Linked DNA regions of Homo sapiens: regions 1, 2, 3, 4 and 6 are each linked to region 5. The links are contacts of gene promoters, found by promoter capture Hi-C in blood cells and fetal thymus (Javierre and others, 2016). All regions are on one chromosome and are shown on one strand. The core of a region is centred on a gene start or on the middle of the fragment in contact, and the rest is flanking DNA. Distances in the headings are between cores, read along the strand shown. Region 1 has its middle 25 kb from the start of PTPRC. Region 2 overlaps LOC105371677 (a long non-coding RNA gene). Region 3 overlaps LOC105371677 (a long non-coding RNA gene). Region 4 overlaps PTPRC (protein tyrosine phosphatase receptor type C). Region 5 holds the start of DENND1B (DENN domain containing 1B). Region 6 holds the start of PTPRC-AS1 (PTPRC antisense RNA 1).

What was found. The method cuts DNA at HindIII sites, captures the fragments that hold promoters and counts their contacts. A CHiCAGO score of 5 or more calls a contact.
Region 1: a fragment that was not itself captured here is called in contact with the fragment with the promoter of DENND1B in region 5 in 1 of 17 cell types (fetal thymus); the score reaches 5.4 in fetal thymus.
Region 2: a contact is called between a fragment that was not itself captured here and the fragment with the promoter of DENND1B in region 5, in 1 of 17 cell types (M2 macrophages). The highest score is 8.1, in M2 macrophages.
Region 3: a contact is called between a fragment that was not itself captured here and the fragment with the promoter of DENND1B in region 5, in 1 of 17 cell types (M0 macrophages). The highest score is 5.4, in M0 macrophages.
Region 4: a fragment that was not itself captured here is called in contact with the fragment with the promoter of DENND1B in region 5 in 1 of 17 cell types (M2 macrophages); the score reaches 5.9 in M2 macrophages.
Region 6: a contact is called between a fragment that was not itself captured here and the fragment with the promoter of DENND1B in region 5, in 2 of 17 cell types (erythroblasts and M2 macrophages). The highest score is 5.6, in erythroblasts.

Annotation. Positions count from the first base shown.
Region 1 is chr1:198,611,889-198,616,090 of GRCh38, reverse strand. No RefSeq gene overlaps it. Among named protein-coding and RNA genes, the nearest start is that of PTPRC, 25 kb to the left of the region's middle. The HindIII fragment of the contact is 1,812 bases long and covers 530-2,341 here.
Region 2 is chr1:198,464,588-198,468,920 of GRCh38, reverse strand. All of the region lies in intron 1 of LOC105371677 (a long non-coding RNA gene), which reads left to right. Among named protein-coding and RNA genes, the nearest start is that of ATP6V1G3, 74 kb to the left of the region's middle. The HindIII fragment of the contact is 805 bases long and covers 929-1,733 here.
Region 3 is chr1:198,495,220-198,499,406 of GRCh38, reverse strand. The region is part of intron 1 of LOC105371677 (a long non-coding RNA gene); the gene reads left to right. Among named protein-coding and RNA genes, the nearest start is that of ATP6V1G3, 43 kb to the left of the region's middle. The HindIII fragment of the contact is 2,471 bases long and covers 1,266-3,736 here.
Region 4 is chr1:198,640,799-198,645,203 of GRCh38, reverse strand. All of the region lies in intron 2 of PTPRC (protein tyrosine phosphatase receptor type C), which reads right to left. Among named protein-coding and RNA genes, the nearest start is that of PTPRC, 4.0 kb to the right of the region's middle. The HindIII fragment of the contact is 4,043 bases long and covers 561-4,405 here.
Region 5 is chr1:197,773,559-197,777,804 of GRCh38, reverse strand. DENND1B (DENN domain containing 1B) reads left to right here and starts at 2,325. Exons shown (of 23, transcript NM_001195215.2): 1 at 2,325-2,666. The coding sequence starts at 2,650. RefSeq lists an enhancer at 1,108-1,157 and silencers at 1,532-1,826, 2,118-2,317, 2,468-2,977. The HindIII fragment of the contact is 6,146 bases long and covers 1-3,831 here.
Region 6 is chr1:198,665,007-198,669,188 of GRCh38, reverse strand. The region is part of intron 2 of PTPRC (protein tyrosine phosphatase receptor type C); the gene reads right to left. It overlaps PTPRC-AS1 (PTPRC antisense RNA 1), which reads left to right and starts at 2,047. Exons shown (of 3, transcript NR_199042.1): 1 at 2,047-2,190. RefSeq lists an enhancer at 1-425. The HindIII fragment of the contact is 1,485 bases long and covers 508-1,992 here.

The DNA.
Region 1 (4,202 bases), core at 186-2,685, 840 kb before region 5:
TCACTTGAGATCAGGAGTTCGAGACCAGCCTGACGAACATGGTGAAACCATGTCTCTACTAAAAATACAAAATTAGCTGGGTATGGTGGAACACACCTGTAATCCCAGCTACTTGGGAGGCTGAGATAGGGGAATCACTTGAATCCAGGAGGCAGAGGTTGCAGTGAGCCAAAATCAGGCATTGTACTCCAGCCTGGGCAACAAGAGCAAAACTCTATCTCAAACAAACAAACAAATAAACAAACAAAAAAAAAAGAAGAAGAAGAAGAAAAGGAAAAAAGAAACGTAATTGATTTTTGTTTAATGACCACATGCTATTGTAATTCAATGCTGCTAAAATCACTTACAAATATCAGTAATTTGCAGATTAATTTGGATTTTCTATGTACATGGCCATATTTCTGCCATTCTTTGCCTTATGCCTTTTATTTCTTTTTCTTGCATTAGTCTACTAGGATGGGCCTTCAGTATCTTGTTGGGAAGCAGTGATGACACTGGACTTCTCAGTCCCAAATACAGACAAAAAGCTTTCAATAATATCACATTTACTATAGGATCTTCTGTAGGTTTTTACAGAAGCTCTTTGTCAGATTAAGAAACTACCTTTCTCTTCCCAACTCTCTAAGGTGTTTTTCTTTTTTTGAATCATAAATGTGTTTATATTTTCCTGCACCTGAGGAGATGATTATAGGATTTCTCTCTCTCATTATCTGTCTCTTTTTTTAAATTACGTGGTAAAATTGCATTGATTGTTTTTGAATAGTAAACTTTCCCTTTCATTCTTGGAATAAAGTCCACTTGGTCACAATATATGGTACTAGGTAGGTCTATTATTCTTTTTACATTTCACTAGTTTTATGTACTCATATTTTACTTAGTATTTTTGCATTTTTTCTGTAATTTGCTAACAGTAAATTTTTGATAACAAGATCCTGCTAGGCCAGGCACAGTGGCTCACACCTGTAATCCCAGCACTTTGGGAGGCCAAGACAGGTGGATCATTTGAGGTCAGGAGCTTGAGACCAGTCTGGCCAACACGGTGAAACCCTGTCTCTACCAAAAATACAAAAATTGGCTGAACCTGGTGGCTTACGCTTATAATCCCAGCTACTCAGGAGGCTGAGGCAGGAGAATTGCTTGAACCCGGGTGGCAGAGGTTCCAGTGAGCTGAGATCGCACCACTGCACTCCAGCCTGGGTGACAGAGCAAGACTCTGTCACAAAAAAAAAAAAAAAAAAAAAAGAAGAAAAAAAGATTATGCTAACCTCTTAAAATAAAACGGAAGTGTTTCCTTTTCTGAGTTCCCAAGAACAGTTTATACAAGTGAATGTTACTTCTTACAGTAGAGGAGAAAAAAGTTGTATGTTTTTCTCACCCATTTCAAGATTCACAGGTGAAATTTATATATAATGAAGGTTTTATGTGACATGGGATCCTTCAGAAATGAAAACCTAAAGACCCAGGGAAGACCATCTGTTTCTTTGCTAAATCTAATAAAAGAAGCCGGTAATTTTATAGAAATATGATTGGACAAAAACATATGCTCTAACGGGAATAAACTGAGCAAGGCCTGTGTGTTCAGGCTTCTTGGCCTATCTGTGCAACATTTCTTTCTTCTTGGCACAGTGCAGGGCATCTGTCACAGGAGGGTCTTATGACCTACTTTCAGGAAAAGTAGGTCATAGACTGTTCTTTCTAGGTTTTATGGCTTGCTTTGGGGGAGAAATTGGGGCAGGAGGCAGAAGGATGGAAGAAGGTCAGAGAGACCTCACTTCTGAGGCCTTTTGTTTTCTTGAGCTCAAAGACAGTCAGCATGGCAAGGCACGATACTTTGGGGTATGATGTTCTAAACCCCAAAATTACAAAAAGCATTTGGGCCTGGAGGATTTTTGAGGGGGAAGAAGAGCAAAGGTTTTTGATTTTAAAAAAAAATCAATTTGTAAGTAAAAAAACTTTTAAACTTTCTAAGTCTTCTTGAGGTAGTTTTGATAAGCCATGTTTTCAAAAAAGTTATTAATTTAATACGAATTAACAACTTTATTGACACAATGTTACTCTTAATATAATTTTACTAACTCTTCAAAGTTTACAAGATGAGTAACAATACCACCTTTCAAGTCCTGGTATTGGCATTTTATATATTCCATCTTTTTTTGTTCGTTTGTTTTCCCAGAGATTTATTGATTTCTTCCAATAACAGGGTTCTATGTTTTCTTAATTTTCTCTTATAAATTTAATTTATATTTCATTGATTTTTTATTCCTATCAATCTTATTTCCTTTCTTGTACATTATCTTGGTTTGATTTGCTATTCTATTTTTAGTTTCTTGAATTGAAAGCTTCGGTCATTGATTTTTAATGTTCAATATTTTCATATGTTACAATCTTAACTCCTTCATCTCTGAAGCCATTTGGGTTCACAGATCATTTAAATGACCATTAACTGGCCAGTCTCAGTGGCTCACACCTGTAATCCCAGAACTTAGGGAGGCCAAGGCGGGCAGATCACCTGAGGTCAGGAGTTTGAGACCAGCTTGGCCGACATGGTGAAACCCCGTCTCTACTGAAAATACAAAATTAGTTGAGCATAGTGGGGCGTGTCTGTAATCCCAGGTACTTGGGAGGCTGAGGTGGGAGAATCACTTGAACCCAGGAAACAGAGGTTGCAGTGAGCCAAGATCATACCATTGCACTCTAGCCTAGGCAAAAGGAGCAAAACTCCATTTTGAAAAAAATAAAAATAATAAAATAAAATAAATGACCATTAACTTATCTAAGATCAGTGTGACATGTTTATAAGTTATACAAAGTGAATGATCAAATATTCTAATCCAGGACTGTCTGACAACTAAGTCCACGGTCTTTCCTATTCATATAAAGTTGATCATATAAGCCAGGAAGTAGATGATATCCCCCCACCAAAAAAAAAAAAAAAAAAAAAAAAAAACAAAAAAGAAAGCAAAAGTAAAAGAAATGAATCTTGACTAATATCTACTTCTTGTCAAGTACAGAGCAGCTTCTGGAGGAAATAGAGAAGGAACAGGAGAACCAAGAGAGTTATGTCTAGAGACTTCCTAATTGTGGAGCCTTAGACAAGTCCTTCCAGATTCCGAGATCACTGTTTCTTCATCTGTAAAACAAGAAACATGAACTAACTATTTCCAAGGTTTTTCTCCACTATAACAGCTGAGTTTCAAAGAAGAAATGATGATTAATGATGTTAAATGTTGCAGAGAGGTTAAAAAACATAGTTTAAGAAAAAGACAATAAATTTAGTAATCAAGTAAGCATTATACTTAAAGTGCGATCCCAATTACGAGCATTTTTAAGATAAAATGGGTTTTATGCCTTTCTCAAGTAGACAGGGAAATCTGTGAGACGAGACATCAACAACATTTGACATTTGGGAAAAGTCATAGCAGGGCTAGGAGGAACCACGCATAGACTTTTGTTAGCCAGATATTGACTGAGTTTCCTGAGTCCTCTTTCTCATAGTTACAGTGCTGTTTTGGTTTGGGCACAGGATAAAAATCAATCAAGAAAGATCATGAATAGAAAAAAAAGGACAGATTAATTTAGGTTTTATCATCAAAAACTATCTGACAAAAGTTGGTGTAAAAAAATCTAAAAGAAACAGCATCATATCTAGATAGGGCAAACTTTAAAAGCCAGATAACGACACTCAGTTTTCTGAGACCTCTTTCTCATAGCCATGGTGCTGTGCTGTTTTGGTTTGGGCACAGGATAAAATCAATCAAGAAAGATCATGAATAGAAAAAAAAAAAAAAGAACAGATTCACTTAGGTTTTATCATCAAAAACTATCTGGAAAATGAGATCACATGGACACAGGAACGGGAATATCACACTCTGGGGACTGTTGTGGGGTGGAGGGAGGGGGGAGGGATGGCATCGGGAGATATACCTAATGCTAGATGACGGATTAGTGGGTGCAGTGCACCAGCATGGCACATGTATACATATGTAACTAACCTGCACAATGTGCACATGTACCCTAAAACTTAAAGTATAATTAAAAAAAAAAAAAAAGAAAAAGAAAATCTAAAAGAAACAACATCATATCTAGATAAGGCAAGATTTAATAGGACAAGTAAGTCATTGCACAAAGATGATTAATGAAACATTTGAGACAAAATCCTCTCATTGACCTAGGTCTTTCCTCTATGACACTATGACGGCAAT
Region 2 (4,333 bases), core at 82-2,581, 690 kb before region 5:
ACAATACAAGCACACACAAAATTAAGTTCCTTGAACATAGTTAGACTTAAACCAATGTTAATTTTTATTTCCTTTCAAAGTCATTATCTGCTTTTAGATTGGACTTTCATTTTGTAACAAAGAGAATAATTTTTTAAAATTATATTTTTTAAAAATAGAGAAAGTTGGCTGTTTTTGATGGCCCACAGAAAAACTAAAATATAATTAAGGGAGAACAGATACATAGGTATGAAACTTGGTTGGGTACTTTCACTGATACTTGCACAAATTACATATTTACCTATGTTATGCCACTTCTAGAAGATGCTTGTTTAATATATAACATTATCTTTTACTGTTTTCACCTTAATTTAATTTCAAAAAATCTTTTTATAAATGGCTAGTATGTTTTGTAAATTCATGCATTCAACAAATGACCATCCACAGATACTGCATGCAAGGCTCTGTGCTGTCCTCTAGATGATGCAGAGATGGTTGATTTCTGGAATCTACCCACAGATGCCAGATTTACAAGAGGATAATAAAGTTTAAACATGTTCAATACCAAAGATGGTTTTTGGTAATACCCTGCAAAAGTTTAGACAAGACAGAAGGCTGATATTTTCAGGAAAGCAAAAAATAAATAAATAAATAAAATAAAATAAAATTTAAAATAATTCATGCTTTTGTTCCAGAAACATCAAAAAACAGATTTCTTTATTAGCTCATTCTGAGTTGCAAATTTTTTCTGGATGATTTTTTTGTGGTTGCAGCTCACTTGGCATCAGCTCCCTTTTTCTGCCAGCACAGCCAAGGTATTCCACGCGTTCACTGTAAATGGAAGTTTATACTGTGCTGGTGGACTGAGATTCCAGGAAGGAGGGCCTCCATGACATGGACAGACCTAGCTTTGTGGCACAAAGCACAACAGCTAAGTCAAATGAAAGCTTACAGTGGATGATAAAAAATAAATTCAGTCAAACAAATATGTTCTCCTAACTGCTGTAGCAAACTTCTTTCTTTCTCCTGGCTGCCAGCTCTTTTCAAAGATGATTCCCAAAGGCTTTTTTCCTTTGTTTAGGTTTCGTATGGGGTAAATTAATTCATGATTTGTTGTTAAAAAACAGTAAAAACAAAGTAAAACACACACACACACACACAAACACACAAACACCTCTTTCCCTAGTCTTCCTCAAAATACCCACAGGAACCCACCCAATAGAATGGCCTGAAACAAAATACTTTTGTTCAAAGCCAGCAAGTCTGGCAAAGCTGCAAGCTCTGCCCATAGCTACCTGTATCATGGGTAGCTGCAGAGAAATATGCAAACTGGCAAACTGGGTACCTTTTACTGTTTTACAACAATATGTTTTATTGTTCTCTCGCTAAGTTCTTTGCCAAGGGCAAAGAGTACTGAAGTAGCTAGCAACAGCCCAGACACAGCTGTCAGCATGAGCCTTACCACTTCTGGCATTGCTTTTTTAGCCAAGAGGCACTGCAATTGCTTACCAATAAGTTGTGATGAGTTGATAATGCAAGTAGACTAGATCATAAATATTTTAGTATTTAAGCATGCTTTTTCATTTACGGTGACTTAGTGCTGCAATGGCAAAGGACTTTCCCCTAGGATAGGCAATTAGGGATAGGTGGAAATGCATATTAGAACATTTATGATAATGAGAAAACTACTTTTAATTGAGTACATTAAGGCTGATCTACAATGATTAAAGCAAAACTCTATTCAAAATGAAGCTTTATTATCACATTTTAAAACCTATACTATGAAACAATTTTTAACTGAAAAATATTTATAAAATACAACTTTGCATCTCTAGTAACATCAAAACCAAAGTGAATTATCTGAAATGAACAAGAATGGGTAGGAAAAAGAAATTGATTACATATGACTAGCAGCAATTGATATAAAGCTACTCAATACGTTAATGGATCTCTGTACTGAATTTTCATCCACTCTTTAGGAATTCTCATTTAGTGTTTGATACTTCTGAATATTGTATTTAAGGATATTTCATTAAGGCTGGATTGTTTACAACAGTCGTAATTATTGTCCCATTCTCTAGATAACTCTGACACCATGGGTGATGACGCTCTGTATGAAACTTTGCATAAGGCTTTCCCTGCTTGCCTCTCTTGCAGGCAGTGTGAGTGACCCTCTCTCCCTATGTATGCATTTAATTCTTCCTCCCCTTACACTCACTTCCTAACCCTACTCCTCTTCTTACTGTTTCAGATCTAAGCTCTCAAAAACCCCTAAGGAAAAAAAAAGGCAAAGGCACATGTAGCTTTGTCAGTGCATTGGAGGGTATGAGACAGGGTTTGAATGCTAATTCGGCTACCCACTCTAAAATGAGGCTAATGATACTGCACAGTGTGGTTGGGAGATGAAATAACACATGCAAGGGCTTTTAAAATTTTAATGTGCAGAGAAATAGAAAACATTATTCTATTTCAATTCTGAAGAAAAATATGTAAATATGTCACATTTTGTCCCTTGATCAGCAATGGTTCCAAATCAAGAGTGTCTTAACTATGCCTGTTTCCCTCATAAATTTTACATAAAGTTCTGAAAATATTGCCACCATTTTATAAAGGAATGGACGGCAATCAAGGCAGAAACTGTTTGGAAAATAGAGGTTTGTTTGTTTACTTGAGGTGGAAACAATTCTCTCATCTATGTGTTGTTTATTCTCTTCAGTGAACATTTTCCTCTTTGTATCTCGGTTCTAAAGCCTCTCTGAGAACGTATATTTCAAAAGCACATGAAATAAAATCACATCGATCCTCTGTTTTACTTCATCTTGTTTGGGTGGGAGGAGATTTAATTTATATATGGTTGTGATTTTCATCATCTATCTTATGAAGCACCGTTTGGTTTTATTTGTGGGTTAGTTTCATCCTTAATACTCTTAAAAATAAAAGGGATATATGTTTTTGGTTATGTTTTGGGGGTTCTTTTCAAGCTATACTTTAATCAATGACTTCTCACATCAGTAAATGTGATAAAACTTCAATACCCAATCAACTTGTAATAATCCAAAAAAGAAAATGCTAGCCTGGATCAGCTAGGTGACTCTTTTAAACATAGAATTGAAGATAATGTGTTAAAGCCAATGCCTGATTTAAGGTATCTCCACAGTTGCTCCGATAATTCTGTTTTGAAGCACTAGATGGCACTATGAATTCACTTAATTTGGAACCAAACTAGCCCATCCATAATTTCAAAGAGAAAAAAAGATGAGACTTTTCCTTAACTGATTTGATAGTCTGACACATATGCTTAAGGAAATGAATTTATATGATGTAACAGTTATTTCATTAAGTCTCAGTGAAAAAAAGCATTCTCTTTTGGCAAGGAAAATGTGACTGTTTCTACAAACACAAACCAGTCAAATCAGCACTCAAAATCTAGTCAGAGAAAAAAAGAAAGTCAGACATGCTTGTTGGGCAACTTGACTGCTTTTTGACTGACTTAAATATTTTCTTGACTACTTGACAGTCAAAACAGTCAAGCCAGTTTGTGTGTGTCAATACAGACTGTACTTTATATGTTACAAAGTGAATGTCTATGTTTGTTAGATTTCTTTCCTGCCATCTTTGTAGTCTGGCTGGTTAGCTCAGCTGGTTAAGGCAGTCTACTAATGAGGCCAAGGTCACTCTGGTTTCCATTCCTGCCTTGGGGGATATGTTCTCCTCACAGAGGGAAAGGCTGCTCTTTGGCTAGGAACTGCATTCTTCACTCTGGACAGCCATCTCACAAATGCCTGATCTTAAAAGATTACTGCATATGGAAGTCTACATGATCAGAATAAACACATCATTATAAGAAGATAAAAACAACTCAAATTGTATATTGTATTAACAGCAGAACCACGATGTCATTTTTCTAAAGAAAGGACTCAAGAGAGTCCTTCTAAAATCAGCTTCATTAACTAGCGAAATTCTATTTCTTGTCCATCCATTCAAATATTGTATATTGTCAAGAACTTGCTTAGGCAGAGAGCTAGCTACTGGAGAATAGAGTAAGGAATAGCCTGTATCACAATGACTTCACAATATAGTGAGGAAGATAAACAAGCAAACAAATATTAGATAATGTGATAAATACTACTATAAAGGTATATACATAAACTTCCAAGGAAGGGAAAATAAAGTCTAATTTCCAGGCAGTTATATGAGCTAGATCTCAAAGAACTGACATGAATTCAACTACAGTATATGGAAAAGGGAATTCCAGGTGAAGAAATAGTGTGTGAAGACAGAGAGATGTCTGAGTGGCATGTCTGCAAACAGAGAAGTGTTTCCTGTGCCTAGAATTTTGAGTATGTGGTAAGAA
Region 3 (4,187 bases), core at 1,252-3,751, 720 kb before region 5:
TATATAACTTTAACAGTCAAGTATAATTTTAATAACTTTTTTATTTTCCACCATTTATTTGGTTTTATATATTTACTAGATTTTCTTTATTTCCTCTTAACAGCTTTACATGTTTGCACCTCATCTTCTATTTTTGTTAAAGAAACGTAATCTTCTACTTACAAAGTTATTATTTTCACTATTTTACAGAACAAAAAATTGAGGCCTCAAAAGGTTAGAAAAAACTTTCCCAAGATTACATAGCTAAATTTGTGGAGCTGGAATTTAAGCTCATGCCTGTGGATTTCATAACCCAGTATCTACTACACTAAACAGCCTCAGACAGGCAACTCCACCTAAAGCAAGCCTGGGGCACAGGTAAAGAGGAATGCTGTTCCCAGAAGGGTTTCTAAAGCATCTACATGAAAATGAAGAATGTGCAACACCTTATCTTAGAGATTATTCATTTACTGAGTTCAGGTCAGGGCTGATAGCCAGGCATAGCAGCTTCTTGAAACTTTTGAGAAAGAGCTAGAGTCATTTTAAATGGAAGAAGTAAGCACCATAAAAAAACAGAAAATAGAAACTATGGCTCTAGTCAACCTACTGTGAACCTTAGAATATTCATGATTCTGGGCACATAAAATCTGGCTTCCAGAAACATATCAGAAAAGATTCACACCTCTTTTTGACTTAGATAAAATTAAATTTATTTCTTGCAATTTTCCTTTTTCTGTAACTTTTTGTTTGGAAATGCAGCCACAGGCATAAATTTTCATATCCCAACAGGCTCCACAAACTGAAGACAATCTAAGTTTAGCAGTCATATTCATATTCAAATCTATTCCTTTACTAATTCCACAGATATTGCCAGGTATTTGATCATAGTTACTTGAGATACAACAGTGGAAAACAGTCCCAGATCCCTCACCTCATTGAGTTTATATTCTAGCAGGAAGACAAGACAAGGTTTTAAAAAATGTAAAAAACTAAGTTATATTTTCAAGTTAGAAGGTGATGAATGTTATGAGAATTCCTAGAAGTTGTAGAGCAGGATGTATTATTCAGTATGGTTGGCCTCATTGTGTAGGTGACATTCATGCAAAACTTGAAGAAGAGGAGGTCAAGGCGATTTTTGGCATATGATAGATTGCAATTTTGTCTAAAACATATCATGCCTCTCTTTTTGAGATTATAAATTCCTGACCAATTGACATAAATTCCTGCCCACAACTTTTTTAGCTAAAGAAATGTGATTGGGATGATGTATCCATTTCCAAGAAGCTTTAAGAGCCACATTCTTTCATGTTTTCCCACATTTCCTTTTTATCTGCCACTAGATTTTTAATGTCCAGATAAGGGCTCATCCTTTGGCCTGGGTACAATCCTAGCACAATTTGGAAAGCTATTGGTGGTGAAACTTTGGCAAAATATAAATCTTTGTTTTTATGTGCCATGAAGATTTGGGATTCTTCTAAGCTCCCTCATGCCTACACAAGAGCTTTCAGGAAGAGGAAACAACTTAAGCAAAGGCCCTGAGGCGGGAGCATGCCTAGTGTGATTGAGGAACAGAAACAGGTCAGAAAAGTAGAAGTAGAGTGAGAAGTGGGAGATTAGCAGGAGAGACATTCAAAAATAAAACTACAGCATGTAGCCCATGGTAGGAAATTTGGCTTTCACACTGAATAAACTGATGAGTCATCCGATCTAAGTAGAAGAGTGAAATGGTCTGATTTCAGTGTTCAAAGGATCACTTTGCTCTATTGAAAATAAACTAAAGCATGATAAGGACAGTTATTGGTAGAAATCTTGGGAGGCTATCGGCAAGAGATGATGGTGGCAGCAAGGATGAGGGTACCAGCAGTAGCAGAGGTCATGATGAGAAGTTAGATTCTGAAAATCTAATCTGCTCAGTGGAGGGTGGCAGCTGGAGATTCTGGGCACTAGCTGTCATGCTCCCAGGGCTCTGTCTGTGAGGACTGAATAAAGCAGTAACTCATTTGTGTATGTGTATGTGTATGTGTATGTGTATGTGTATGTGTATGTGTATGTATGCATGTGTATGTATGTGGACACAGTGAAGAGGCAACAAAGACAAAGCAGACAGTCTAGGGCTCAGAGCAAACACAAGGCAGACAGTCCAGGGCTTAGAGTAATTTTGGGACAAATAAAAAACAAAATTGTAACCAGAAACCAGAATAAGTGTCGAGGAATTGAACTGTCACATATTTTGAGAACTAAAGAAAAGCCATACTCAGAGGCATATAGTTGCCCCAGGACGTACTTTATACCCAAAGATTCACCTACGCCCACTAGGAGTTAACAACCCCTATCAGGACTCATGTATTCCACAGATGCTAAGATGCCATAGTTACAAAAGCTCCAGATTCTACCTTGGCTGCTCTGGATCACGGAAAATTCCTGTGCCTATGCCAGCAGCTGGGGTTGTCAAAGCTGACTTGGACTCTGGGCATGGTGGCTCATGCTTGTAATCCCAGCAGTTTGGGAGGCCAAGGCAGGGAGATTGCTTGAGTACAGGAGTCCAAGATCAGCCTGGGCAACATGGTGAGATGCCATCCCTGCAAAAAATAAAAAATAAGCTGGGCTCAGTGGCCTACACCTGTAGTACTAGGGAGGCTTAGGTGGAAGGATCACTTGAACCCAGGAGGTCAAACCTGCACTGCAGCCTGAGCAAGAGCAAGACCATGGCTTAAAAAAAAAAAAAAAAATTAAAACATAAAAAAAAGCTGATTTGGTATGACTCATCCTTAGTTGTCTAACCGCAAATAAAATAAATATCTCTTAAGCATTCTTCTTCACAAAGCTCATGATTTCTCTTACAATTATTCATTCAGTTAACAAGTATTAAACACCAACGATAATTAGAACCCAGTCTAGGAGCTGGAATTAAAAACATAAACAAGAAAATACAACATGTCTACCTATCTTGAAAAATTCTTCATCAAATGTGAAACCAGCATGGGAATGGAAAATGGTACCACAATATGATGGAAGTATAGGAACGCTGTGGATGCAGTGCTGCAGCAGTGGAGAGGTGGAGACACGGCAGCAAGAGGGGAAAGGCATCTCCAGGAAGGTAGCAATTGAGCAGACCTCAAAGGTTAAGGAGGAATTTGCTAATAAAAGGGATGGGAGGTATGTAAAACCAGAAAACAGAATAAATGTCTAGGTTAGGCCATGTCATTTTGTTAGCTCTTTTTGGTAAAAATTTTATAAACAAGATCCAATTGAAAACTGAAAACTAATATTTTGTCATGTCATCGACATCCAATTTTAAATTCTCTATATCATCTTTTATAAGTACTATAGTCTTTATCAATTGGATGAATTATTTCACCTTTCCCTATTTACTTGTCACTGAAACAAGAAACCAAAATTTTCCGCATAGGTGCTTAAAAGTGCATAGAATCTAAAGTGAGAACTTTGGACCAGAGAACATTCCCACTCCATCAATCCCACCATGGTCCTTACTTCCAGACCAGTCTGCTGTTAATGCATTGGCTTCTCCAGGCTTTCATGTGGCATTAACCCACATTCTTTCCTCTCTCTGAGCACCTTTTCTCTCTCTGGAGCAACGTTCTAAAGACATTATTCACAACTTCTCTTTCCTAATCTGTCAGCTTTAATCCTATAAACCGACCACCACAAATACTTAAGGATGTCTGAAAGCTGTGCTTTTATCCTTGTTCAAATTTTTTATCTCCATATGTCACCTTAACCTTGTCTTACAAAAGCTTATCTCATTTTACTATTTTTAATACAATTTATACATTGAGTGTTTTAAATCCATCCACACTATCAATCATTTCAGCAGCTATTCATATTTATTTTGTTCTTTATGGTCAACTTTCCTCCTTTTTAGAATGTTTTCTATCTTCATATTTTACAGCATCGCATTCTCTATCACTATTCTCTGGTATCATGAAAAAATGAGCAAGACTTCTGATTTCTGGGTTATGTATTTCTAATACCATCCTTTTTTTATCAGTAATTTGCTCATCTTCTATAGATTTCTGCCAAGTTTCTAAGTTTTTAAGACATTAATGTTAGAGAAGAAGAAATCTTTCACTTTGTTTACCATCTCTCTTCCTTTGGTTCACTACCCTTATCCATTAAATGGGCCCCTTTTTCCCATTGGTAAAAAGAATAAATCTTAGCCTTTCACTGTGAACCTCATTGTTAGCATT
Region 4 (4,405 bases), core at 1,333-3,832, 870 kb before region 5:
TGCAGAGAATGTCTTCTTGTCTATCAGTGATTTCTATCAAGTTTGCTATACCAGCTGTTCATATCCTAATACGTATGAGTGTGTTACCTGAGTTACCCTCAACTTTTGCCTTCTACTCCTACATTAGCAAATCCCTATTTTGGAGGGTGGATGGTTTTCTTCCAGGTATGCAAATTTTGATTATATTCTTAAATAAATGAATGATGATCATTTATACTTCAATATAATTGCATTGTAATTACAGTTTTATAATAAATACCCTGTATAGTAGAAACTGAAGTTTCAGTTAGGTGGCTTTTTCCTTTCAGACACTTGACTCATTTTTAGAGGAAATAAATATTGAATCTTTAAATACTATAGAGTTAAGCACCATAGAATATATTTGTTTAAGCTCGGTCTCTACTAAAATCTCTAATAAAAACTGATAATTTTGCTGATTGTCTGTTAAGAAATCAATCAATTGAAGGTACTATGAATGGATATAGAAGATGCTTGTTTACTTCACTAATATTGACTTTATGTGTATTTATTCTTGTCCTAGATGAAAGAGTAGGAAAGCTTTTGTTTCTCTATTTGTTCTTGTTTTTTGTTGTGATTCCTGAACATATAATTCTCTGCTTATAGTAGTCATTCCTAGACTCTTTTAACAGACTGATATTGAAGTAGCACACTGACATACAAACAGGAATGAAGATTAAATATTTTAGACAATAATTAGATATTTTCTAATATAAATATTGGTTAGAGCCAGGTACACAAAATCCAGTGATTGCCATAATTTTTATTCCTGTATATTTGGGTATTATATAGAAATAGGCATCAAATCATATTGCTAAAGTCTTGCCATATTTTTTTTCTGGTGTATCATATCTTAAAAAGTGAGGTCTTTATGTATGCAAAAGTCATAGCACTAAGCCTTTGGTAAAAGGCCACTGCTATGGGATTGAGTATCTAGTACTTACAAAGATATTTAGACTAGACAGAAATTAATTTTAAACTGAAGATATGTTAAATTTCCATTCTAATTGTTTCCCATGTAAATAACTACATAAATCTATAAGATGTCTAGAAAAAAAAATCAAAGGTCAGCACTGATGAAAAATTTCTCTCTCTGCACCAAGGTGACATATACACACATGGTCTGAAGATGAAACCTTGCCTTTGTGAACATTGTGTATTTACCAAGAGAATGAATCAACCTCAGTACAAATCTCTGCCCCTTACCTACTCAGATTGACATTCATCACCACACTGTCTGTAAAGAAATTATTCCCAGCTCTCTACAAACTTTTGTCGTGCAAATAATGCAACACCTAGGGTGCACCATATTCCATCTGCCCTTGCAAGCAATCCCAGAGCACTAGCATCAGTGTTCAAACCAGCAATTGCCATGACTGGACCTGATCTGTTTGTGTTATCACTCCGCTACATTTGTATTTCCCTCCCATTCCTTGCTTTTTCTCCTATGGGTATGTGTATCTGAAAAATAAAATTGACCCTCCAAATTACATTACCTAGAATGTCCAAAGAGCAGATCAAAGAAAATTTAGGAAAAACATTCTCAAACTATGAACTTTTAGGAAGTCAGGAGGCTCTTTCCAGACGAGAGGTGAGATAAGGAGAGTAAGAAAGGGAGCAAAGAAAAAACAAACAAACAAACAAACAAAAACAAAAAGGCAAGACTGTAAACATCTAGATCCAAAATCAACTTAATTTAATCTGGACAAAATAGTCCTGCTGTCTTCATCCTCCCACTTCGCCTCTGGTTAATTTTTTTATCTCATATTCTCCCTCTTTTTGACTTCCCTCTTTGAAAATTTTCCTTTCCTTTGTCACTACAATATGCAGTTTTATTTTTTTAATCTATGATTTATTCAGTGTCTGGTGAAAAATTAGGTATGGGAACTATGAGTTTATGCCTTTTGTGTCTCCTATACCTGATTTCATGTAGGTTACAATGTCAAGAAATCCACTAATTCACATGTCATCATCATCATCAATCATCATCACAAAAAAGAGCAGATTGAAATGACTTGAAAAATGCCAAGAAAAGGTGATAAAAAGTGTGCAATTCAATGGAAATATTTTGTGGCAAAAGTGACATAAGAGAACATAATAGAAGAAGTAGGATTTGCCCAGAACCTTAAACACCTTGAGAAAGTATAGAGGTGGGTGTTAAAACTACCTCCTGTTTGTTTTCTTTTAATCAATCATAGAAGAAAAAGAAAGAAAAAAGAAAGAAAGAAAGAAAGAAAGAAAGAAAGAAAGAAAGAAAGAAAGAAAGAAAGAAAGAAAGGAAGAAAGAAAGAAAAGAAAAAAGATCCCTTCCCAGCTCCAGGCCTAGCCCCCAGATCATTAGTGGAACCAGTTTCTCTGGCAAAAAAGATTAGAATTTATACCAAAGGCAATGAGAAGAAATCAGTAACCCTTCACTTTTTATTTTACTTTTTAAGCTGTAGATTACATTAAAAAAAGGATGAGACTTCAGACTGATTAAAAAAACTATTACAATTTTACAGGTGAGAAATAATAAAGCCATGAATTAAGATGATGGCAATGGAGGTGTCAAAGCAAGAAGTTATTAGAGATTATTACAAAGCAAAATTTCAGGACTTGGGGAGCATGTTAATGTCTGGATTTAGGAAAGGTAGTAAGTTCCGTGTTTCTGAGGGATGAGTCTAGAGATGGAGAATCAGAGTGATCAACACATAGTAGGCAATGATACGTAACCAAATGGAGAAAAGAGAACACAGGCGAAGGTCTGAAGTTCATGGGAACGCCAAATAGACAAACATGGAGAACTGATAGATAGATAGATAGATAGATAGATAGACAGATAGATAGATTGACTAGTATATATAACCCACAAATATATAACTAGTTTATGTGTGAGTATCTACATAAAGAAATATATGTTCAAGTATATGAACAATGTAGAAACATCTATATTTCTATACTGGTTAATTGTCACTGGTGAGAGGATAGCAAATAGTCCAGAACAAAGAAAGAACTAAGTTCAAGCTAACTACTCTGCCCCTATACTTACTTACACAGAACAAAAGAGAAAAAGATAATATAGGCCCTAGCCGTAGTCTTTCCTGTAACAAAGTACATTTCAAACTTTAGCAATGATAAAGGTCACAGGCAGGTTTTTAGTAGGACATTTTTTTTCAAATTAATAAGTAATTCTAATCACATTCCCAAATCTCTAAATTATGGAGTATTTAGAACTTAATAGGACTGCTTACCAAATTCAATTAAATAATTTTCATTGAATGTCTGTGATGTGCAAGGCACAGTCCATGTTTATAACATGAGATATATATTTTTAATACAGATGGAAAAATGAAGAATTATGTCCAGGAAATGAGTCTTAACTGTTATGACTCATAACAAAACTCATCATATACCTCACATACCATAACTCATATACTCCTAACTGCCATGCTATAGTGTGGTAGATCTGCCTGGCATTACAACTTTATTAGAACCAGAGAACACTCACCTTCACCTGCCTTCTTAAAACCATCATTGTCCCCTAACATTATTTAGAAATTCTAAACAAAGTTTGGCTTCCAGTTGCCATGGCAAAGAGGCACAGAGCAAGAGGATTAGGAAGTCTTGAGTAAAACTGAACCCTGCCTGGTTGTTGCCGTGGCAAAGATTAACTTTGGCCTTGTCCGTGTGTGCATTTTAGATATTAAATAAAATATTTGAATTATGCATAGAGTTACCATTGATGGCTCTCTACATTTGGCTCTATTTCTTTATGCCTTTACAGCATACAATATAAATTTTGTTCCCCAAAAGTTTATTATTTCCTGTAGGCACTAAACTAATTTTAACACGTTAAAATGAAACATAGAATCCAACTCATTTGTTGCTAAAAAAGAAAAATAAATAATTTAAAGCATTAAGAATTTTCCAAATTATACATTAAATCACAAAATGTTTCTTGCAACTTGAAAGGATTATAAACAATATTTGCAGATACAAATGATTATATCTGTATATGTTTTTCCACAAATAAGCATATATCTCAGGGAGTCTACAAATGTCTTTTAGAAAAATGTTTGCTCTCAATATTTATGTGAGCAACTGAAGATAAAGTTGAGTTTTCAAAATAAATTTATGTATATCCATTTATTTGCTATGGTATAAATCATTCAGCAAAGTTGATATAAAGGTTTCTAGACCCCATCATATTATTTCAATTATAAATTCAAAGATGTGTCTTATGGTTAAAAAAACATCCTGTAATAGAATGAGTTGAATTTTTATTCACAAAGGAAATATTTCACACTCTGATTTAAGCATATAATAGGATATTTGGTCTATTCAGGAGGTTGGGAAGTTTGCCTGGAATAAAAAGCAATGGAGCTAGACCTGAAGAAAATAATAGAAG
Region 5 (4,246 bases), core at 1,076-3,575:
AATTAATAAGAAATTAATTAATAAATAAAGACCATGTTCTTTGACAACAATACAGACTATGTTCTTTGACTGGTATGGTCCTGAAAACTGTTAATATTAATTGTCGAGTAGGAAATATCATTGCTGAAATATGATCTTGGGAAGATTTAAGACTAATTTGAAGGTTTGCCCTTTGTACACTTCTCTATCAGTCATATGGGAAGTTCTATATGAAATGAGTATTACTAAAGTTATACCATCGATTTCATTAAAGCTATTACCAAGGTAAGTGTATGATATTTGTTTTCTAATTTTTTAACACCTCATGCATGTAGATCATGTACACCTATGTTCCTATCCCTTTTATTTCAGTAATAACAGAACAGATAAATCTCTTCATTATGGTCAGCCTAAAAGCTCACTTAAAAAGATTTGCTTTGGGATGCGAATGTGTAGTATTTCCCTCGATGTACTTAACATAAATGGAATGAAGAACAATTTTATACTGTTCAAGGGTATGACTGTCATTTAAAATAAAATCCCAACAATGGATGAGGAAAACAATTGTATTATTATCTCCTCACACCAAATTAAAAAGTCCTCAATATGGTCACCCCAAGTAGGGTTCCTTTCTTTGGAAATAATTAATTATAATGAAAGGAGAAGTTTGAGAAATTCAGTAACAGTTGGGGCAGAAGTGGCTTTTAGCTTACGAATTTTTTTTTTCAAGGCTTTGGAGTATGGTCACTTATGCAGAAAAATCTTTATTTGGGAAAAGAAAACTTATGTAGTATAGTTTGCCTAATTGTGAAACTGAAATTCACAGAATAATTTCTCAAAAGATAATACAAATTTGTAGCACCTGTTTTACTTGAACATCACACTGCTCATGTGATGTACAAGTAATAATTCCCATTTTACAAATGTAGGAACCGAGAAACTGAAGTGTCTCACCCCGAGTCAAGCTATGACAACACTTTATGATAAACACATTTTTTTTTTGTTTGTTTGTTTCCCAGTTATGGCCCGTCCTCATTTTTTACTAACAGGCCCATGGCTATACAATATTTCTGATCCTGTTGACCAAGTAGTACCCAATTTTGGCAAGAAAGTTTAAGGTTATATAACTGAGTGCAACTTCAGGTTCTCTGACTCTTGAGTTTTTTAATTCTTAAGACTCCTTTTCTGACTTTTATGTCTTATGACTCACACTACATTCATACCACATTTGGTTTCCTCTCATCATCTTAACTTCTGCATGAATAAAGTCTGAAGTAACCACCTTTTGGAAGAAACACTGTGGCTATGTGTCAAGGGTGGCAGTGTTAGCTGGGAGAAGGCCTTTCCCAGAAGATCTCTGTGTAAGAGCCTGGCCTTCCACAGTCATTTGAATGTCCATCATAAGACTTTTCTACCTGTCTTCTCAGTAGATCCTAAATATGAGACAGCAGAGGAGGGAGACAGGCAATATGAGGTAGAAGTAAATAATCAGCATCAGATAGACCTGGTGTGAACTCCAGCTTTGCCATTACTCCCTGGTTTCTTCATCTGTAAAATGCTGATGAAAGTATCTATCACACACCTATGACAAGTACTGGGTGAGAGTGCACATAACCTGCTTCACATGTGCTTTAGGGCTGTGTAAATCAGTCCCTCCCACGCTTATTCAGTGGTGCCCTCTCTGAACTCGCCTAAACTGCCAGACTATGAGGCCTGCGACTATGTACATGTGTTCAAAAGTTAGTCCTTGGTTATCACTGCAGTCTGTGGTATAGGAATGTCTGCCTCCCACATGCGCAGACAAGTGGGGCACTACCATTTGGCTACTTGACAGGGCTATTTAGCAGGTGCACATGTCTGAACATTCCTGAATCAGGAGGGGGTAGCTCTGGATTTCAGAGAGCTGTAAGCAGGCCACAGCTGGAGTGACGCAAGAGCCAGGGGCATCAACTTGAGCTCTGAATTTGTAGTATGAAATGAAAGGAACCCAAGTCCGTGTGTATGTGTGTGGAAAACACTGCAGGTCGAGGTACTTTTCCAGGTACTTCGCCCTTTGTGGGGTTGCAGCCCCGACGCCCTGGAATCTGGACTGGACCCAGAAAGGAAGCCGGTTTGGTTCATGCTGAGGACACAGGGGGCACCTTGCCTTTCTGGCTAGGTGGCAAAGCGGTACGTGGGCCATCCCAGCAGGCACTAGCGCTCCCCCTGCACCCTCTGGCCGCCCGGGCGCGGGGACCTGGCCCCCGCCTCCTCCACAGTCTCCGACTTGCGAGCCGCACGGCCCAGGTGAAGCCGCTGGGCGCGTCCCCGCGCGCCCCTTCCCCCTCCCGGCGACTTCCTGATTTGCAAGAAGGTGCAGGAGCCGCAGCGGGCGGCCCCGGTCGCAGGAACTGAGAGGCCTCAGCTTTGGTGGCGGCTACCGGCGGAGACGGGGGCGGCGGCCACGCCACCGCTGCTGTCACAGAAAGGCTCTGGTGGGTGGGGTGGGAGGCGGGGAAGTGCCGGGGGCGCAGCCGACATGGGCCCGCCGCCACGGCTGCTGTGAGCAGCCTCTTTCCCTGTGTGGCCGCCGGCGTGGGCGGGGACGGCGCGACCCTCGCGCGGCCGGGCTGCGGGCTTCCAGGCCAGCGCGCGGGGGCCGGACGGACAGCCCCACACCGACATGTAACCATGGACTGCAGGACCAAGTGAGTGGGGGGGCCCGGGCGCGTCGGGGGCGGGCGTCCCTCGGCGGCCCCTCCCAGGCCAGCTCGGCTCCTCCGCGCCTCCGCGCTCAACCGGCTCCCCGGGCGGCCGAGGTTGGCCGGGCGGGCTGGGGGTGCGGTCCGGCCCCCAAGCCTCTGGCCGGCCGGCGGGACGGCGCTAGGCCGCAAAGCCTGCCCGCCCTGCGTCCCCGGCCCTCCGTGGTTGGCGCGGCTCCTCCCGGAGAGGCCACTAGCGCCTTGTCGACGCCCGCCTTTCGGGGGACAGGGGAGGCCGGGCGGCCCCTGACACCGCCGCTGAGGGGTTCTCGTGCTTCCCCCGAGTGTGTCAGATGTGACTCTCCTGGGGCTGCCTGTGTGCGTGTGGTGTCCGGGAGGGAGTCAGCGTTGAGGTTAAGAGGTTATTATTCCGAGTGCTCTCTGAGCATTAAATATAACCGGTGTTTTCTTAAGTCCGTTTGTTACTTTTGTCTTGGATGTTTTCTTATGATTCTGCTTATAAAATTAGATTGGTCTCTGGTGTTTCTTTATGCAGCAACTGTAGATGCATGGTTCTTGCAAAACGGTATCCAATTAGAGGGTACTTTTATGTGTGTGCTAAAGTATTTATCAACGACTACTTTGCTCAGGAGATTAGGTAAAAAGCAATTTTAATAACGGTGGTGATTTTGTTTCTAGGTATCTTAGAGGCATGAGTTTTATATTTTTCTTCTGAAACTTAACTTTGGAAAGAATTCCTTTTTACTTCGCTTACCCACCCTTTACTATCTCCTTCTCAAAAAGTTTAAAATAATGCCATGTATATTTGTATTATTGTGAAAGGCCGTTTGAATTTCACAGAAGTAAAACTGAGTCAATATTTAACTTTTACACCTAAGAGAAATTCTAAAGAATATTAGGGAAAGAGGGAAATTATGTAATAGAATTATTTTCTTCAGTGTGTTTGACATCATGGTGGGCAGGGTAAGTGAGTAAAAATAGTATGCTTCTTGACATTAATTGTTTTAAGAGGGAGGAAGTCATCTGAGCCCAGATTATTCCCATTGAAACAAGTTAATAGCGGAAAGGCTAAAAAAATGTATATTTGCATGTTAATTTATATGTCTTGTCACTTCCTATGTTTCCAGATTCATATCTTATAAGAAAAGCTTCCAAAAAAAGAAATGCTTTTTTTTAAAGTCAGAGCTGGCATTCGTTTCTTGAAGGAAGTACATATTAAATACAGCCAATGTACAAAGGCACTAAGGTCTTGTTAGCAGGAATAACTGAGATATTAACACATTGGCCGTTGTGGTAACAGACTTAATCTTTTACCTTATGATGGAACGAGAGATTTAAACAGCAATGTTATGAAGAAAAAGTGTCTCAGTATATTTCAGTTCACTTTTTGAAATTTAACCAATGTTGCTTTGAAATTTTGCAAATATGGCAAGTTAGTAAAAAAGTCAATAACTTCTGAATTAAGCAAAGTAAACTTACAGTTTCTAGTGGGAAAATCTAACATGGAAGCAGATGGCTGGTTTCTCCAAAGATAATGGATAAAAAGAAGGCTTTTTATGTTGCTA
Region 6 (4,182 bases), core at 1-2,500, 890 kb before region 5:
TGTTCATTTTTGTGGTTACTATGCAACCACTTAGATATTTCTTTGTAATTTTTGCCCAATCTGCTAGTTTTGGGTACTATTTCAACCATTTTATTTGCGAAGAAGTCAATCCTTTGTAACTATTACCATTAGACTGAATCACATAAAATCATTTCTTTTGTAGGCCAGCAATGACCAAATATCATCACTTTCAAATGTTTGAGCCTATATGTTACATTACACCTACTTTATGTGTTCAAATATCTTCAATTTAATTGTACCATAGCTCTCAGGTGGTCTTATTGCTGCTTCCATGGATAGATGGCAGGTAAAGTGGGGTTTTCTTATGCTCTCTTAATTTCCCTTCGATACATATCTATTCACCTAAAGACTAATCCTTCCACAGGAAGAAATGGATTCCCCAACTCTGAAAGGCTAAACATTCAGCCATGCCCTTTTGGGATCTGAAATCACCTTTCCTTATACAGAACCTACCTAATTCCTTATCAATCATTCTTGCTTCAAGCTTGGTCATGTATCTTTTCTATAAACTATGTAATTAGAATTATCAGCACCATTTTATATTTACTTTCCATGTACCAAGGGTGTTTATGTAAGTTCTCAGGCCCCCTTACTTATGCTATCTCATACTGTTAATTCCTTATAGTGTTATGAAAGATGCTTGGCAAAATTAAAGCACTCAATTTGTATGCAAGTCCATAACACGCACATTTTAATACTTCCTGTTCCTTTGTGTTATGCCCTTCCCTCTCTTCTTTATCTATCTAACTCCTGTATTGTCTTCAAAACCCTAATTTGGGTGACATTATTTTTTGCTACCATGTTACTCTGTGCTTATGTTTATATATAACTTAGCTGGGCATGGTGGCATGTGACTATACTCAGGAGGCTGAGGCAGGAGAATCACAGGAGCTCAGGAGTTTGAAACCAGCCTGGGGAATATAGTGAGACCCTGTCTCTAAAACAAAAATAAAAAAAAAGACATCACACCATGATACCACTTTGGATTTGAGTAGCTGGAATGCTCTTCCTCCAGATAGCCATATGGCTGGCTTTCACTGTTTTTGCTGGTTGTCCAATGTTTATTTCTATAAGATCATCCCTGCCACTCTAACAATCATTATTCTACTGTTAGGAGAGTATATTTTAACTCTCACATCTGTATTCAGTTAGCTACAAGCTAACATTGTAAGCTAAGTTGTGTATACAAGCTAACACATGCAATTTTCTAACATTGCTTTGCAGAAATATGACTGATTGCCTACTTCTTTCCAGTTTTTATCTTTATCTCAATCTTTTCTCTTGCTGTGCACTGCCTAGAATGCCTGAGACACAGCTACTACCTATTGAAATTATAGGATTAAAATTCTATCAACTGCATGGAAATTTCCTTAAACACTCCACTTTCACTGATACCTTCTTTTATGTTTCCATGACATGTTATGAATTGACAGTTTGTATATGTGTAGATGTCTTGTCCTAGAAATAAAATAAATATGTTTTCAAGGCAGAGACTGTGACTTTCTTTTCTATATTCTTACTAGGATCTAGCTCTGTGCTTTGCAGTTAGCAAGTATTCAATAGCACAGCTAGAATAACTGAATGAATGGATGAGTGCCACCTACTCCTTTATTGTCCATCAATAATGCACCCAAGGCTAAATCTTAGCTTTCCAAACTCACTTGGCCAGACCAGTTGACATTCTTTATTCCCATCTGAGGAAAATTATTTTTTTTCAGTCTTTGTACATTGGGAAACTTGTCAGATAAAAGGCCTAATATAGATTCAATCATATAAAATGACTATGAGCTATGGCAACTAGAAGACATGATAAACATTCCAAAGCTATTCATAATCCCATTCTTCCTTGTTAAATGCTACAATAGAGGCTGGAAAACAAGAATAATTTCTTTCTCAGGGACTCCTTCCCACCTCTGACAGCAATGAATGGTTATATGTTAAATTTCTGGCCAATAAGTGTAGACAAAAGCTTCTGGGGAAGGTTTCCATCCCTGAATAAAGAGGCAAAACCTCACTAGGAAAAATATATTACCACTTTGCCTTCCCTTTCTTTTTGCTGGAATGTGATGAAAGGTGTGGACGCATAGCATCCCAAATGAGATAGGAGATGCTGAGCATGAAGACAAAAGCCTATCGAATGGGGTGTCAGAAAAGAAACATCAAAATATCGTAAGTTGCTTAGGGCATTATTATGTCTTTGTACTAGTCATGGATTTCATTCCTTTAGATCTTTAGTTGTAGAACTCCAATGTATTTGAACCACTAGTGATCACATTTTATTTTGTTTGATAGCTGAATACAAAGCTGGCTGATGCAGTGATCTACAAGGTCATGACTGAGGTATCTTATACTCATCCTCATTCAAGCAAGATTATGTTTAACTTAAAAAGACAAATGAAAAGGAATCTATTTTAATAAATATATTATTGGTGGAAATATTCATAGTCTACCTTGAAAGGAGTGTTATGTTAAGATTGCTTTGCTTGTAGAGTAATTTATGCCTTTAATTTCTGTGTCTAGTCTTTCTAAGCCAGAATAAAAGTCTGTTCATCATGATCTCTGTTATAGCCCTCCGCATATTTGAAGGCTGCTGTTATATCACATCATATATTAAGCTCAGTTAATAGATTAACAGACCCTTTATTTTTACATTTACTATAGCATCTAACATGGTTAGCAAATGCTTTTATTATTTCTTTATTTTCTTTATAAGATAAATGGGTATTACATATACCAAAGCATCTGTTTTGGAGCCACTATGATCACTAAAAGAATCTTTTCATTGTTCCTACCTTCTCCTTCCTACATGTGTGGAAAAAACACATGATTCCACACATACACATGGTTGTCTAATTCTATTGTTTAACCCTCCATGAATAGATGTCCACAATGCTCCCTACATCTCTCTTTTTTTTTTTTTTTTTTTTGAGACAGGGTCTTGCTCTGTTGCCCAGGCTAGAATGCTGGAGTGCAGTGGTGTGACCATGGCTCACTGCAGCATCCATTTCCTCGACTCAAACAATCTTTTCACCTCAGCCTCTCAAGTAGCTGGGACCACAGGCACTATACCCAGCTAATTTTTGTATTTTTTGTAGAGATGGGATTTGCCATGTTGCCCAGGCCGGTCTTGAACTCTTAGGCTCAAGTGATTCTCCCCCCTTGGCCTCTCAAAGTGCCTATGTCTTTAAATGTGAGTATTTGAGCATATTGAATGATGATGACCTGCCCTTTGCTGGTAAAGATATACTAATAACATAATATAAACAATACGTACACTTGGGATGTCTTTCCAGGGCTGGAAAGAGAATCATATTCTGTTTTTCCATGTTCTCATTTTATCCTGAATGTGCCAATTTAATTATTTGCCAACATGTTGCCAGACATGCTCCCTAGTCTGTGCTAAAGCATTTGTTACCATGTACTACATTGAACATACTTGAATGTTTCTGTCATGTTTACCACCCAGATGGTGAGAATCCAAGGAAAGGAGACACTTGTATTAAGTTCACAGTTTATCTGTTCTTGGAAACATATAACTGCATGAAGAGATCAGGATGAAAATATCGTTATAGTTACCCCAGTTACCTCAAGGTGGAAGTCTGGGTCAGACAACCACGGGGACCTGCCATTGCAAAACTTCTCTGTATATGCCTGGGGGACCTGGCTGTTCTAGTTTTTCACCATCTTTGACATCTGCTTGTTCTCACTTGGCTCCTGCCTTACCCTCAGGGTCTCAATAATGACTTCTTGACTTTGACAACTTTGACAAAAATGCATTCATCAAAATTATAATAAAAAATAAAATCTATTTTTAAAATATGATATTTAACTCATGTATTAAATTGCTTTAAAAGGCAGCAGGGCGGTGAAACCCCGTCTCTACTAAGAATACAAAAAAAAAAAAAGAAAAATTAGCCAGGCGTGGCGGCGGGCGCCTGTAGTCCCCCCTACTCGGGAGGCTGAGGCAGGAGAATGGCGTGAACCCGGGAGGCGGAGCTTGCAGTGAGCCGCGATTGCACCACTGCACTCCAGCCTGGGCGACAGAGCGAGACTCCGTCTCAAAAAAAAAAAAAAAAAAAAAAAAAAATGCTGCCGGGATGTTCTAAAAACACTCCCCACCCCTTGTACTGACTCCAATCCCATTCAGATCCAAAGGGTAAC